Linked DNA regions of Homo sapiens: region 1 is linked to region 2. The links are contacts of gene promoters, found by promoter capture Hi-C in human tissues and cell types (Jung and others, 2019). All regions are on one chromosome and are shown on one strand. The core of a region is centred on a gene start or on the middle of the fragment in contact, and the rest is flanking DNA. Distances in the headings are between cores, read along the strand shown.

Evidence for each region. The method cuts DNA at HindIII sites, captures the fragments that hold promoters and counts their contacts. A contact is called where the count stands out against the background at its distance.
Region 1: a contact is called between a fragment that was not itself captured here and the fragment with the promoter of HECTD1 in region 2, in 1 of the 25 tissues and cell types used here (dorsolateral prefrontal cortex).

Annotation. Positions count from the first base shown.
Region 1 is chr14:32,546,753-32,553,758 of GRCh38, reverse strand. It overlaps AKAP6 (A-kinase anchoring protein 6), which reads right to left. Exons shown (of 14, transcript NM_004274.5): 4 at 6,760-7,006. Among named protein-coding and RNA genes, the nearest start is that of AKAP6, 220 kb to the right of the region's middle. The HindIII fragment of the contact is 3,069 bases long and covers 2,563-5,631 here.
Region 2 is chr14:31,204,463-31,212,100 of GRCh38, reverse strand. It overlaps HECTD1 (HECT domain E3 ubiquitin protein ligase 1), which reads left to right and starts at 4,308. Exons shown (of 43, transcript NM_015382.4): 1 at 4,308-5,085; 2 at 6,144-6,304. The coding sequence starts at 6,165. RefSeq lists enhancers at 3,367-3,878, 3,732-3,901, 3,879-4,390, 4,903-5,416 and silencers at 4,082-4,421, 4,722-4,931, 5,052-5,261. The HindIII fragment of the contact is 13,658 bases long and covers 1-7,638 here.

The sequences.
Region 1 (7,006 bases), core at 2,848-5,347, 1.3 Mb before region 2:
TTTACTAGGAGTTTTTATTTGTGGAAAGGGAATGGTTACAACTGATTCCCCAGTTTTAAAAATATTGCCTTAAAATTTTTGTTTTCATTGGCTTATATATGTAAAGGCCTTCTTAAAAAATATGTAAGTACTAAAAACAATAGTGATCACATATGGTGAAGTGAGAATTCAAGATGGAGTGATAAGGATGAGAGGGGGATTTACTGAGTATTTTTAAATGTCTATGATTTAAAACCATGTGAATATATTATCCAAAAATCAATTTTCCCAAAGAATAAAGAAATCTTGGCCAGGCGCGGTGGCTCACGCCTGTAATCACAGCACTTCGGGAGGCCAAGGCAAGTGGATCACAAGGTCAGAAGTTCGAGACCAGTCTGGCCAACGTGATGAAACCCCGTTTCTACTAAAAAAAATACAAAAATTAGCTGGGCATGGTGGTGGGTGCCTGTAATCCCAGCTACTGGGGAGGCTGAGGCAGGAGAATGGCTTGAACCCAGGAGACCCAGGAGGCGGAGGTGCAGTGAGCTGAGACCGTGCCACTGCACTCCAGCCTGGGTGACAGAGCAAGACTCCATCTCAAAAAAAAAAAAAGAAAAGAAAAAAGAAAAGAAAAAGAAAAAAAGAATCTTTTGTTTTACAAAATTAGTCTATTATAAGAAAGATACAAATGTGAGGGGTGGGGACTGACAGGAACCTACTGGAGATTCTATCACAGCCCCACACTCTCTTGCAGTTACTGGGCTTCTATGTGCCTCCTGCCTTCTGCTCTGTGTGACTCAGAGAAGACAGAGTGGAGGACTCTGCCATGATGAGTTAATGGACTCCACTTTCCATTTGACAGAAGTGGAATTAGAAGCAGGATATATTTTTCAGTATTTTATCATTCTTGATACCAGGCCATAATTCTCCCTATGAGTTCCACATACCCTCCCTTCTTTCTCAGTGTGTCCACATTTACATAGTCTTTCTAGCTACTTCAATCTCTCTTGCCACTTCTGCCTTCAAATAAGCTTCAATTTTTTAAAAAAGACTTTTGACTTTACTTTCAACTACTGCCCTTTGCCTCATATTGTGTTTTCAATACAATTCCAGGAAATATTAGGAATGATTGTTTTTTACTTCTTAATCACCTATATCTACTTTCACTCCTTCATTAAGTCTGTTTTTTTCCTAAGGTCTTCATTAATTATTTCAAACAAATCTAAAGGTTGTTGGGTTTTTTCCCCTTAGTCTTTATTATTCTTGATCTATCTTTTGCAAAGAACAAAGCTAATGTCCATTTTATTTAGTATCTCTTTCTCTCTCTCCATGTATTTAATACCCAAGAATTCTTTCTGTCCCTTCTGATCCCCACAACTGGATCTCTTCCTTGTTCCTGTCTCATAACTGAGCTACAACTTGAATCTCAGACATCAGTCCCTCTGCTTTTCTCCATCTAGTCTCCTTCTTTTAGGGAATTCATCTATTCCCAAGTCTTTATCTTGTGGGAGGAATAAAACAGATGGTGGCCTGAAGCCTGGCTCTGTAACTTATTAGCTGTGCTGCATAGGAAAAATTGTTCGTTCATCTTTCTAAACTCAGTTTCCTCTGTTCTAAAATGGGGATTCAGTCATTCAGTAGTCTTTATCGAGCAATTACTGTACACCAGGCATTGTTCTAGGTACATGAGATTCATTAACAAACTAAACAGATAAATATTCCTGCCCTCACAGAGTTCCCATTCTAACAGAGGGAGACAGACCAAAAATAATAAATATACTACATTAGAAAATTATATAAAATTACAGAATGTAGGCCGGGCGTGGTGGCTCACGCCTATAATCCCAGCACTTTGGGAGGCCGAGGCCGGCGGATCACAAGGTCAGGAGATAGAGACCATCCTGGCTCTCACGGTGAAACCCCATCTCTACTAAAAAAAAAAAATACAAAAAATTAGCCGGGTGTGGTGGCAGGCACCTGTAGTCCCAGCTACCTCAGAAGGCAGAGGCAGGAGAATGGCGTGAACCTGGGAGGCGGAGCTTGCAGTGAGCCGAGATCGTGCCACTGCACTCCAGCCTGGGCGACAGAGCAAGACTCCATCTCAACAAACAAACAAACAAACAAACAAACAAACAAAAATTACAGAATGTGGTGAGATCTGTAAAAGAAAGAAAAGGTCAGATTACACCTTTTTTTTTTTTTTTTTTTGAGACCAAGTCTTGCTCCGTTGCCCAGGCTGGAGTGCCATGGCACGCTCCCAAGCTCACTGAACCTCCACCTCCCGGGTTCAAGCAATTCTCCTGCCTCAGCCTCCCAAATAGCTGGGATTACAGGTGCACACCATCACACCTGGCTAATTTTTGTTTATTTAGTAGAGATGGGGTTTCACCATGTTGGCCAGGCTGGTCTCAAACTCCTGACCTCAAGTGATCTGCCCACCTCAGCCTCCCAAAGTGCTGGGATTACAGGCATGAGCCACGGCGCCCAGCTGGGTTACATCTTTTAAAAGATGGTCAGAGTAGTCCTCTCTGAGAAGATAATATTTTAGCTGAGACTTGGAACAGGTGAAGGAATTATAAATGAGGGCATCTGCTGGAGAGGATGTAGACAAAAGCAGCTGACAATGATCCTAAAGGCAAGAAGCATGCCAAGTATGTTCTAGGAAAGGGAGTGTAGTGAGCATGGGGAAAAGTCATTGGAAAGGATGTCAGAGAGGAAATCAGGGAACAGTCCATGTAGGACCTCTGAATACAATGGCAACCCTCTATTGTGGAGTTTGGAGCAGAGGGATGACATAATCTGATTTATCTTTTAAAAGGATCACTCTGGCTACTCTATTGGAAATAGACTGTAGTGAGAGAAGAATAGAAGCAGAGAGACCAGTTAGGAGGCTACTGCAGTAATCCAGGAAGGAGGTGATGGGGGCTAGAACCAGAATGGAACAGGAGAGAAGTGGTTAGTGGTTAATTTAGGATTAAAAACCTACCTTAGAGGGTTGTTATAAGAATTTTATGGGAGAGTTATTATAGGTAAAATGCCTAGCAGATGCCTTCTATAAAGAAGATATTAAGTAATATCCTCTGTCATTATATTTTCCAGGCAGAATGGGTTCTCTGGGTCACTATAAGGAGGAGACCAAAGCTAGAGTGTGATAGCCAAGGCCAGTTGACCTGGAGGTTGGCAGCTGCCCTCATCTGGTGTAGTAAGGGAGAGCATGCGGGAGAGCGCTGCATATCATAAAGTCATATACAAATTATATGTAGCCAAGCGTGGCCATTTATATGTCATCAAACAAGAAACCATTAACAATTATCCACCATTAACAATCAAACCATTAACAATTTCCAGCTGGCCTGAGGAAGGAACTTGATCTTCTTTTAGCCTCTTCCCTCATATCCCAACTCCAGTATGGGATTTTTCAACTGCCTATAAACCATTTCTTCTTAAAAGTTTCATCATATGCTATCTATGCACGGTTTTTAAAAAATTACCTGCACCACCTCTACTTCAAACCAGCTACTCATCCAAATGTTTCCTTCTATTAAAGACACACCAGTCTCCAGATGCTGAAAACCTAGCTGCATTTTTGTAGAACTGTGGAATCAAATTGGAAGTTGGTATCATAGTCATCATCGGGTTAAAACATCTCTTTACAAAAGATGAAACAAGGCTCAGAATGGAATATGCCAAGCTGTGGGCCACACCAGGCTTTAATCACTGAATGGCTCCTGAATTCTTTCTAGCAAGGTCTAGAACCAGTTTTCTGGACTCATTCACTTTTTCAACACTCCCCTCCCTTCCTCTTGCCTGATCCACATCACAGCAGTTCCTCAGGTTGGCTGCCACAGGCCAACACCTCTGCCCTGGTCACCGCCATGTCTGCCAGGACCATCTTTCTGTTATTGCCAATTAACCCTTCTGGAAAGACTACTAGAGACCAGGGCCTACACTGCTTTAAGAATGCTGGTTATGGGTTCAAATCCTGGCTTTGTACTTACTAGCTGTGAGGACTTGAGCAAGTTTCCTAATCACATACTGCCTTAGTTTCTTCATCTGAAAAAATCCTCCCTTCCGGGACTTAAGTAGGGTAAGCCACGTAAAATACTTAGTACAGAGCCAAACACAAAATAAAAGCTTAAGAAGTATTAGTTATTACTGTCAGTCCCTTTCAGAGAAGTTGCTGTGGGTGCCTGGTGAACAAATTCTAATTGCCTTGGCGTGGCCTTCATGGCCTTTCCATACCTACTTTAGGTATGGAAACTTTCACTGATCTCTGATGACAAACCTTCCAACCAGGACAGCTCTCTTTGTACCCCATATCCATGCTCATTCTCATTTCTACCTCTGTGTTTTAGTTTATGCTCCTCCTACCTGAAACGCCACCTTCCTTTTCCTTTATCTGTCTGAATCCTGTACATCCTTCAAAGCTCCACTTAAGGTTTAGTACTTCACAAGAACTGCCCAGTCAAATTCTAGCTCCACTGATATTATTACTACTCTACAATACCACAGTTTTTATATTCGGTACTTATTGATCACTTCCTCATGGACAGGAATGAGGGCATTTAGTTAATAATATGGGCTCTGGAGCAGACTGCATGGTCTCTCTCAGCCTGTCTCCTCAGCCATAAAATAAGGTTAATATCAGGGTTGTTGTGAGGACTAGATACACGAATACTTGATATATGTTAATGATGATTAATATGTTATTACTGCTGTATATTTGATAACTTTTTCCTCTTTGTTTATAAACCTGCATTTTCTTCCTCCAGGTTATTCTATCCATATGCACTATACCTTTATCCAGTGTCTAGCACAATGCTGGTCTCAGAGTAGTATTCGACAACGAATGGATGTAAAAAAAACAAAAAACAGAACAAAAAAAAATTAGGAGGAGTGCCCATGGCAGTTACATCAATATTCTCTATCCAGTCTGAATGGGTCCTGAACTCTTTCTTCTCTCCTATCTTATAGTTTCCCGGCGAAGGAGAAACTACAACCCCTTTCAGGGAGGCAACATGATACTATAGAAGAAAACTGGACTAAGAATCAGAAGACGTGAGTTTGCGTCTCAGCTTCCTACACAAAAGGTCTGTCTGGTTTGTCTGTCTCTGTCTCTGCCTGTCTGTCTGTCAGTCTGTCTATCTGTGTCTGTCTGTTTGTCTCTATCTAGCTACCTACCATCTCTTTATATCTATCTATCTATCTATCTATCTATCTATCTATCTATCTATCTATCTATCTATCTATTTTAGCTTGAGAAAAATCACTTAAGCTCATGGAGGCTGTTTCCATCTCTGTAAAGCGAGAATAATCTGGCATGGCCTGCTTCCTTCACAGGACAGCTGTGAAGATCAAGTAAAAAAAAAAAATGTATGGGCCACGCACAGTGGCTCACGCCTGTAATCCCAGCACTTTGGGATGCCAAGGCAGGCGGATCACCTGAGGTCAGGAGTTCGAGACTAGCCTGGCCAACATGGCGAAACCCCGTCTCTACTAAAAATACAAAAATTAGCTGGGCATGGTTGTGGGGGCCTATAATCCCAGCTACACGAGAGGCTGAGGCAGGGTAATCTCTTGAACCTGGGAGGTGGAGGTTGAAGTGAGCTGAGATGGTGCCATTCCACTCCAGCCTGGGCAACAGGAGCAAAACTCTGCTCAGAGGAAAAAAAAAAAAAAAAAAAAAGCATGTGGGAGAGCGTTGCATACCATAAAGTCATACACAAATTATATGTAGACAAGCATGGCCATTGATATGTCATCAAACAAGAAACCATTAACAATTATCAAGTCAGCTGGATCTACTTCCAATGGCCTCCTGAGGAAACGGCCATTACCACAGTAATCATAGTGAATCTCTTTGCCCAGATGCCTCTTAAAAGATCAAATAATTACTTATACTATGGAGCTCAGTCCTGAGATTTTTTTTTTTTTTTGAGACAGGGTCTCACTCTGTTGCCCAGGTTGGAGTGCAGTGGCATGACCACAACTCACTGCAGCCTCAACCTCCTCAGCTCAAGCAATCCTCCTGCCTCAGCCTCCTGAGTAGCTGGGACCACAGGTGTGTGCCACCGCTCCTGGCTAATATAGAGATGGGGTCTCCCTACATTGCCCAAGCCGTCGGTCCTGAGATTTTTGATAAGTCTGTCCTCAAACATTACGTCATATCTAGTAATTTGTTCAAAAGTACAGATTTAGCCAAAATGTCAACTTCACATCCCAGAGTCCATGGGTGGTACATGTATAGGTAATATGGTTATTAGCCAGAGTTCTCAAAGAGGAGGAAGAGTAAAGAAAAAAAAGATCCCTAATAAATTAGAAATGTCTGGTCTATTTCTACAAGAAGTTAACATTGGAGATGTGGAATGTATTCTGGAGTCAGAAGAAATGAATAAAAACACTCTGGGGTAACTGGAATAGTCTATGCATATATTCCTGAGCTACTTGTGTGTGCACAGCTATCATTCTATTTAATTTTGTATTAGATCCAAGGGGTTCCAGCATTCATCAGTAGTCATGATAGATTTGAACAATTTCAACAAAGAATTCTATACCAGGCAGGAGCACATCAAGCTAATGCACTGACAAGGGCAATTCCTAGTGATTCATACTCTTTGTCACATGCATTGATCATTGTGCTTTTTCTTTTCTTTCTTTGGAGAATCAGATTTATCAAAAATAGCCATACATTTTATAATAGAGTGTAGGAGTGTGACCTTCTCCCAGCAATACTTCCAAAACTCAAGTGAGAAATCATTCATGTTAAGAAAACCACCTTACCTCTATTTTTTCCCATATGGCTTCATAGTTGTCTTGGTGCTGAATATCTTGCATCAGTTTCTGAATTAAAGCTGATTTAGTGGCAGAATGGCTCTCATTTTTCTCAGAGGATGAAGCTCTTTCTGACTTCTCATCAGCATACTTTTTCATGCCAGCGAGAGGCATACTGGACTCCTCATCAGAAAGAATGTCACTCAGGGGCCCAGATTCAATGCTCTCCCCTAGTGAAGAGGCTATGTCACTAGAT
Region 2 (7,638 bases), core at 3,059-5,558:
TGTTCAAGACCCTTAAGAAATTGTCTCCAATTAACTTCAATGATCTCTTCCAGCCACTAACACCACTCTAGGTACCAACCAAACTTAGTTTCCCACTCTTTCCAATTGCAGACCACATTCTTTCATACCCAGAACTTCACAGAAGTTGAGGATAGCCAGGGACACTTACATTTGTAGTTCAAACTTGAAGACATGTCCAAACATTTTCTGTAGCATATTTTATAGGTTTTCATCTACCAATTATGCCTCTGATACACAAAAAACATAATGGTTTATTGTTGTGCTATTCATAACTATAAGGTTAACTCTAGAAAATTAATTCATAGGCCGGGCGTGGTGGCTCACACCTGTAATCCCAGCACTTTGGGAGGCTGAGGTGGGTGGATTACCTGAGGTCGGGAGTTTGAGACCAGCTGACCAACATGGAGAAACCCCGTCTCTACTAAAAACACAAAAAAATTAGCCAGGCATGGTGGTGCATGCCTGTAATCTCAGCTACTCGGGAGGCTGAGGCAGGAGAATCACTTGAACCCAGGAGGCGGAGGTTGCGGTGAGCCAAGATCGCACCATTGCACTCCAGCCTGGGCAACAAGAGTGAAACTCCGTCACAAAAAAAAAAAAAAAAAAAAAGGAAAGAAAAGAAAATTAATTCATAGTACATACCAGTTGATGAAATGAGTTTAGATTTGTATGATGAATATCTTCCTTTTTATTAATAGTCCTGTGAGTTGATCCCAGCGACTGTGTACACATCGAAGTTCCTTCGCCAATGTGGAGCCTCAGTCAAAAGGCAGCCTGTTGCTTCATTCTGCCAAGAGGGACCCTCTTCGTACCTCTGTGCCTGTCCATATGCTTTTCCTAATTATCTGGCCAGCTGTGACTCATTATCTGAGATTTAATTCACACTTCATTCCTGAAGCTTTCCAAGATGCCATCTCCTACCTCCTTAATGTTCCCAGCATGTACCTGACAATATCACCTAATAAGCGGTATGATAGAGGAGACTCAGAGGAGTGTGTTTACATCTACCTTTATTGAGGAAGAGGTCTGTGACTACTGAGCCTTACACTGAGCCTGGCACAGAGCAGTTCTCGATGGTCTATGATTCTTGGATTTTGGAAGCAATGGGAAATACCAACATGTAAACAGTTCCTGGTTTCTTGGGATAAGTATTCAAGTCTGGTCAGTTGCCTTTATCCGGATATTTTGTTGTCTTCATGACTTCATTTCTCTCCTTTAATGCTCTTGTTCTGGGATCTCATGCTTGAATTCTTTTTTTCTGTTTGAGTTTAAAATAATAACATGGGCCGGGCATGTGGCTCATTCCTATAATCCCAGCACTTCTGGCGGCCAAGGCTGGAGCATTGCTTGAGCCCAGGAGTTGGAGACCAGCCTGGGCAACATAGTTAGATCCTGTCTCTACAAAAAAATAAAAATAGCTGGGTGTAGTGGCATGGGCCTGTAGTCCCAGCTACTCCGGAGGCTGAGGCAGGAGAATCGCCTTGAGCCCACGAGTTGGAAGCTGCAGTCATTTAGGATCACACTGCTGCACTCCAGCCTGAGCCACAGAGCAAGACCCTGCCTCTAAATAAAAATCAAAATAAATATGATAATAACATCTTTAAAAAGTGCAATAAGTGTCACAGCATTCTTTTGATAAGGTTTCTTTAAAGCACACTAGACATTAATCTTGCGGGCAGGAAGTGGGTGGGTGGTACATGTAGAGATAGTGCAGGATAAAAAAATATATATCTTAAAAACTTGGTAAAGGTGGCCAGGCGCAGTGGCTCATGCCTGTAATCCCAGCACTTTGGGAGGCCAAGGCGGACGGATCACAAGGTCAGGAGATCGAGACCATCCTGGCTAACATGGTGAAACCCCATCTCCACTAAAAAATACAAAAAATTAGCCAGGCGTGGTGGTGGGTGCCAGTACCTGTAGTCCCAGCTACTCGGGAGGCTGAGGCAGCAGAATGGCATGAACCCGGGATGCAGAGCTTGCAGTGAGCCGAGATTATGCCACTGCACTCCAGCCTGGGCAACAGAACGAGACTCCGTCTCAAAAAAAAAAAAAAAAAAACAACAAAAAACTTGGTAAAGGTATAATCCCTTTTTCTAACTTTTCTATTTTTTGTTAATAGCATCACCATTTTCCTAGCTTCCAAGTCCTCTTTCTACGTTAAGGGTTTTTGTTTTTTGTTTTGGCAGGGTCTTGCTCTATTGCCCAGGCTGTAGTGCAGTGGCATGATCATGGCTCACTGCAGCTTCGACCTCGAGGGCTCAGGTGATCCTCCTGCCTTTGACTCCTGAGTAGCTGGGACTACAGGTGTGCACCACCACACCCAGCTAATTTTAAAAATTATTTGTAGAGACAGGGTCTCCCTATGTTGCCTAGGCTGGTCTCCTACTCCTGGGCTCAAGTGATCCCCCTGCCTCTGCCTCCCAAAGTGCTGGGATTACGGGTGTGAGCCATGGAGCCTGGACGGAAATTTTTAAGTTAATCATTTAAATTCTGATATATCTTCTTTCAAAAATTATTTTTAGATTTCTTCCCCATTCATATTGCCAATAACTAGACTTTTCTTTCCTCCATTATTGCAGCATTTCGACAACCTCCAGCTAGTCTCGTCTAGATAGATCCTTTTAGTCGTTCTAGACACTTTCCATAATTAGTCTTCTTAAGACTAGTTTTTCCAGTGTTGTAGTCCAGAACTTGCTACTTAGCTCAGCCTAATTTCTGCATTCCTCATTCAAGGCCTTCCCCACTTTAGCTCCAAATTTCTCTCTCTGTTGCTTACTGTTGGTTCTTTGCTGGGGGCACAGGTGACCTTTCCTATGTCTAGGAACATATCAGGCTTTATGTTCTTCCCTTTCCTTTCAGTGTCTACATTGTACCCATTCTTCAAGGTCCAGAGGGAATGCCACTTCCTTCTTGAAGTTTCCTGGCAGCTCCAATTCACACTCATGACATCTAAATAATTATCCTCATGTGTTGTACTTGGGACAAAATAGTTGAATCCTCTTTTTCCTCTTGTTTCGTTAACAGGATACCTAAACGGACCATTACCTGCGACAACGGGACATGCGCGGATAGCTATCTGAAGTACAAATTTGTCATTTCCAAAATACTGGTTCTTTTTCTAAAGAAGTAGTAAAAAAGAAAGAAAAAAAAGAACCAGTATTTTGGAAATGACAAATTTGCTTAGTCGCCCAGGCTGGAGTGAGGTGGCATTATCAAAGCTCACTGCAGCCTCAATTTCTTGGGCTCGAGGGATCATCCCATCTCAACCGCTCCAGTAGCTGGGACCATAGGTGTGCGTCACCGCATCTGGGTAATTATTTTTTAAATTTTAATTTTTTTGCAGAGACCAGGTCTATGTTGCTCAGGCTGGTCTCGAACTCCGGGCCTCAAGAGAGTAAAATCATAAAGTGCTGGGATTACAGGAAACGCAGCGGACCCAAATTCTGTTCTTTACTCATACCTAGCAGCTCCTCTGGTTGCCTGAGGGACCATGTCTCAAACACTATCATGTCGTATTAATTTTTCTTTTTGTTTAAAAGCTGAAAGTGAGAGTACAGTAGGACGTCTCCGGGCTCCAACTACGTCCTATAAGCATGCATCCTTTATTCTGAATGCGTGTGAAATAAAGTTTGAAAAGAATAACCACAGACATACTTGTGACCACAAGCCACAAGAAACGTAGTCAAAAGTGCACTCTCAGTGCTGCTGCCGACCGGGCACGGCGCTGGGCCTGCATTTGCGCTTTCCTGGAGCCTCAGTGTCTCATCTGTACAACGTTGATAATCGTCGGCAGCACCTCTTTCCCAGGGTTGCTCTGAAGGGTTTTCTTTGGGGTGAACCGCCAGGCGGTCGGCCTCCCAGGAGCGGGGGGAGACGCCTTCCTTACGCGACGCACTTCCGTGCGCGAGGAGGGAAGATCGTGGCTGAGTGCGGGTGGCCTGGGCGGAAGGCTCAGCGGGGACAGGTTGGGCCGCAGCTTTGCTGTGCTGTGCCGTGCGACGCCCTCCGCAGGAGCGCGCAAAGTGTTAGCCACGGCGCCAAGCAAGCTGGACGTGCGTGCATGAGCGCGCTCGGACTGACAGGGAAGCGAAAAGGGGGCCAGGGCGCACCATAGAAAAGCCGCGGCAGAAACGTACGACACAGCCCGAGGCGGCGGGGGCGAGAGCTCCGGGGCAGGGACGGCGACGCGGCGTACCCGGTTTGGCGCCCCTGCGCGGCGGTCGGCCGTCCCGCAGCGCCCCAGGTGGCCGCCGGCGGGGTCGCCGCCGGGGGAGTGGATTTGCTCCGCCTCCGCCGGGCTCGGCTGCCCTCGGCAGCTTCCCCGCCTGGCTCTCCCTCGACCCTCCTCCCCTCCCCCTCCCGGTTCGCGATGGACTGGGCCTCCCCGCCGCGCCGCCGCCGCCGTCGCCCGCAGCACCGCGCGGGCCTCTGAGTTGCAGGGCCTGAGGAGCCGCGTGCTGGGGACTGGACGTCCGCTGGCTGCTGCCGCACGCGAGAACCTCTCGCTTCCCTGTCACCAGGTCCTCGCGGAGGAAGGGGAGGGACGAGGCGCGGCTTTTCCTGTGCCGCCTGCCCGGTTCGACCTGCGCGGCCTGCGGCTTCTTGGGAACTCTAGGGCCGCGGCCGGGCCTGGCTCTGCCGGCGGCCTGTTGGGAGCTGGATCGGAGCGGTTTGGAACGACAAGCCCGAGTAAGAGCCTGCGGGAAGGGGAGGCGGGAGCGCCTCGGACCGTCGGAAGGGCCCTGCGTGGGGGCGCGGATCCCGGACGCCCGGCGAGTGGCGGAAAGCGAGACCCCGGCGCCGAGTGAGGTCGGCCAGGCTGCTGCCGACTTCCCCGCTGGCCCCTTTGTTCCCCTCCCGGGGCCCTGCCGGCGGCGGGGCCCGGTTGCCCGCGCCAGAGCCTCAGGCCGGCTCCTTTTGCCCTTGAGAAGGGTTCGCTGCCAGGCCTTCGAGTTCCGGGCGCAGCTCCCGGGAGAGCCGGCGCCCTGCCTGGCCCGGCGGCCTCCTCTCGGGCACGAAGGCTTGCTGCTGCTTCTCCAGAACTTCCCTTCCTCGTAGACACAGGTAGTTAACTTAGCGGGGTTTGGTGCTGGGGAACCACAGCGCGGGGGCCAGCGCCTCTCAGCGCCCGGCTCGGCCGGGCCCCGGGTGTGGGGTCAACCCCGCTGGTCGCCGCCGTTGGGTGCCCACCGCGCCCCGCCGCCGGCTTCCCACACTTGCGGCTGCGTTACGTGGGACCCAAAGCTGTCCTCCAGTCAGGGCGCTTACGGGGCGCTTTTGTAATGACTTACCTGTTGGGGTTGCTTCTCGGTTTTGTTTTTGTTTTTTTAACCAACTGCCCTATCTTGTGAAGCTGGGGAAAGAGGGCCCTAGGTTGGCCTACATTCGTTCGGATCCGTAACCTGCTGGTCCATTGCATTTACTTTTAGCCTTTCCTTTTTTAATTTTTTTATTTTTTTAACTTTTAAGAATAGTTGCCAAGACTGCCAAAATTCCTAACCAACTCTTTATTCATAGATAAATCTTGTATATAATTGTCGTTTGTATTTGGATATCTTTAAAATAGAAGTAAATTGAGAAGTCAGCAGAATATGTGAAATTGGAGGTAATTTTGAAGGAGAAACAATTTGGAGGGGGATTGGATCAAGGTGTTTAGAGTTTCCTCAAAATACTGAATCTAACCCTTATCTGAAGATCAGTTTTGGGTAGAGAAGGAGGGGGATGAAGTTTGCTGGAAAAAACAGAACCTTTAGTTAGGTGTTCTTTGCCTTTTGGCATAGACTTTAGTGATAGCAGTAGTGGGACCTGAAGCTTGACTGACTGTCTTTGACACAGACAGCTCTGGTTTCTAGTTAAGCAGCAACCTAATCAGCTTATATACTCTTGTGCAAAACTGGTTTTCATTTGGTATGATATCTGTACGTTAAACCTGGCGGATAAGGAAAGTTGAAAAACTGCATTAAGCACTCTTACGTCCAAACGTACTTAGGAGTCTTTTTTAATTGCTAGGAGGACACTATGAAAATTTGGTTCTAGCAGATGTAAAGGAAGAAAAATTTAAGCCCAAGCTGTTCAGTCCCGGAATTTAAAGGACTTTTCTCCCTTTACTTTTCAAATTTAAGCAAAGAGACTTTTAAAAAACCATGGCAGATGTGGACCCAGATACATTGCTGGAATGGCTACAGATGGGACAGGGAGATGAAAGGGACATGCAACTAATAGCCCTTGAACAGCTATGCATGCTGCTTTTGATGTCTGACAACGTGGATCGTTGTTTTGAAACGTAAGTACATTCCTTCATCATGTTCCTTTGGGTTACTGTAGTGACATCTGTTTTCAACCATTTGCTGACTTCAGTTTGTGTAGAAATTTCTCTAGTGAATTTTAACACGTATCTTTAAAAATATTCCTGAAGAGTTTTGTGTTTACACTTTTCCAAGAAATAAAAATTGGTAGGTGAAGAAACTCTAGGACTGATGATTACGATGACACAAATACATATTTGTTGAATGAATGGGAATTAGTAGGAATATTAATTTTAACCCATAGCTTGGTTGGTTCATTTTCAAAATATGTCATGAACTGGGGAAAATACAAATATTTATTTTCTTAAAGGTATCTATTTCTGTACCATGAAATTGATTTATGGAATAAGAGATGATAATAAACATATGTTTTGAACTGCCCATTTCTTCATTGATGTTGTCATATGACAGTACTTTTGTTAAAGCCGATTATTGGTTTGTAAATTTCAGTTTGGGAAGGTATAAATTGGATCTTAACCGTGTAGCAGAAGAGTAGAAAATTTGGAGTAGTAGAAACATTTTGAAGTTTGGGGAGTTTAAACAGTTTTATTGGGAGGTTATAACTTAGTATATATGCAAAAATATAAAAGAGAATTCTTACTAGATAGACCTTACAGCCATTTTTTTCCCTCTTATATAAGTCATAACTTGTCCAGTCAGAATAACCATTCTTCTGAGTGTTGAACATGTGTTTCGTTTTTACTGTTTATTTTACATTTGTATTTACAGTTTTGAACTCCAGTAATAAGTAATTGAAAACTCTGATGTTTCTTTATTCATTTTAATGCTATTTTAAGGTAATTAGTAGAAAATGTTTGAGATGTTGACCTAAAAAATTTGGTATAATTATCCTAATGTGTTTTAGGTGGGAATAAAGTTTATATTACTCAGTTGGCAAAATTTTTAAAGTACCTTCATTTTTGATTATTGAATAACTTTCAGTTGTAACTCTTGTTAAAACAGTACTAAGATAAAAATCCTTACTAATAAAATTTCCAAATTACAATTAGTTAGTGGTCCATTTATTTCCATTAGTTTTTGTCATTGGCAGAATTTTGAGTATGTAAGAATAACTTAGCCCTTAGTTGACACTTGTTTTAGCAGGATTTATAGTAAAGTAGATTTTTTAAAATTTATTTTTATTTTTTATTTTTTTCCTCATCCTGACTCTCAAGTTAAAAATTGCGTTCATAGATTTCATTAGAGGTAACCTGAAAGTTACTTTTGGTATTTTAAAAATCATACTTGTCAGTCAAGTCAATTGTCATTTCGTAGCTTCTGTTTAGTACTAATATGTAGTAGAAGTATTTGT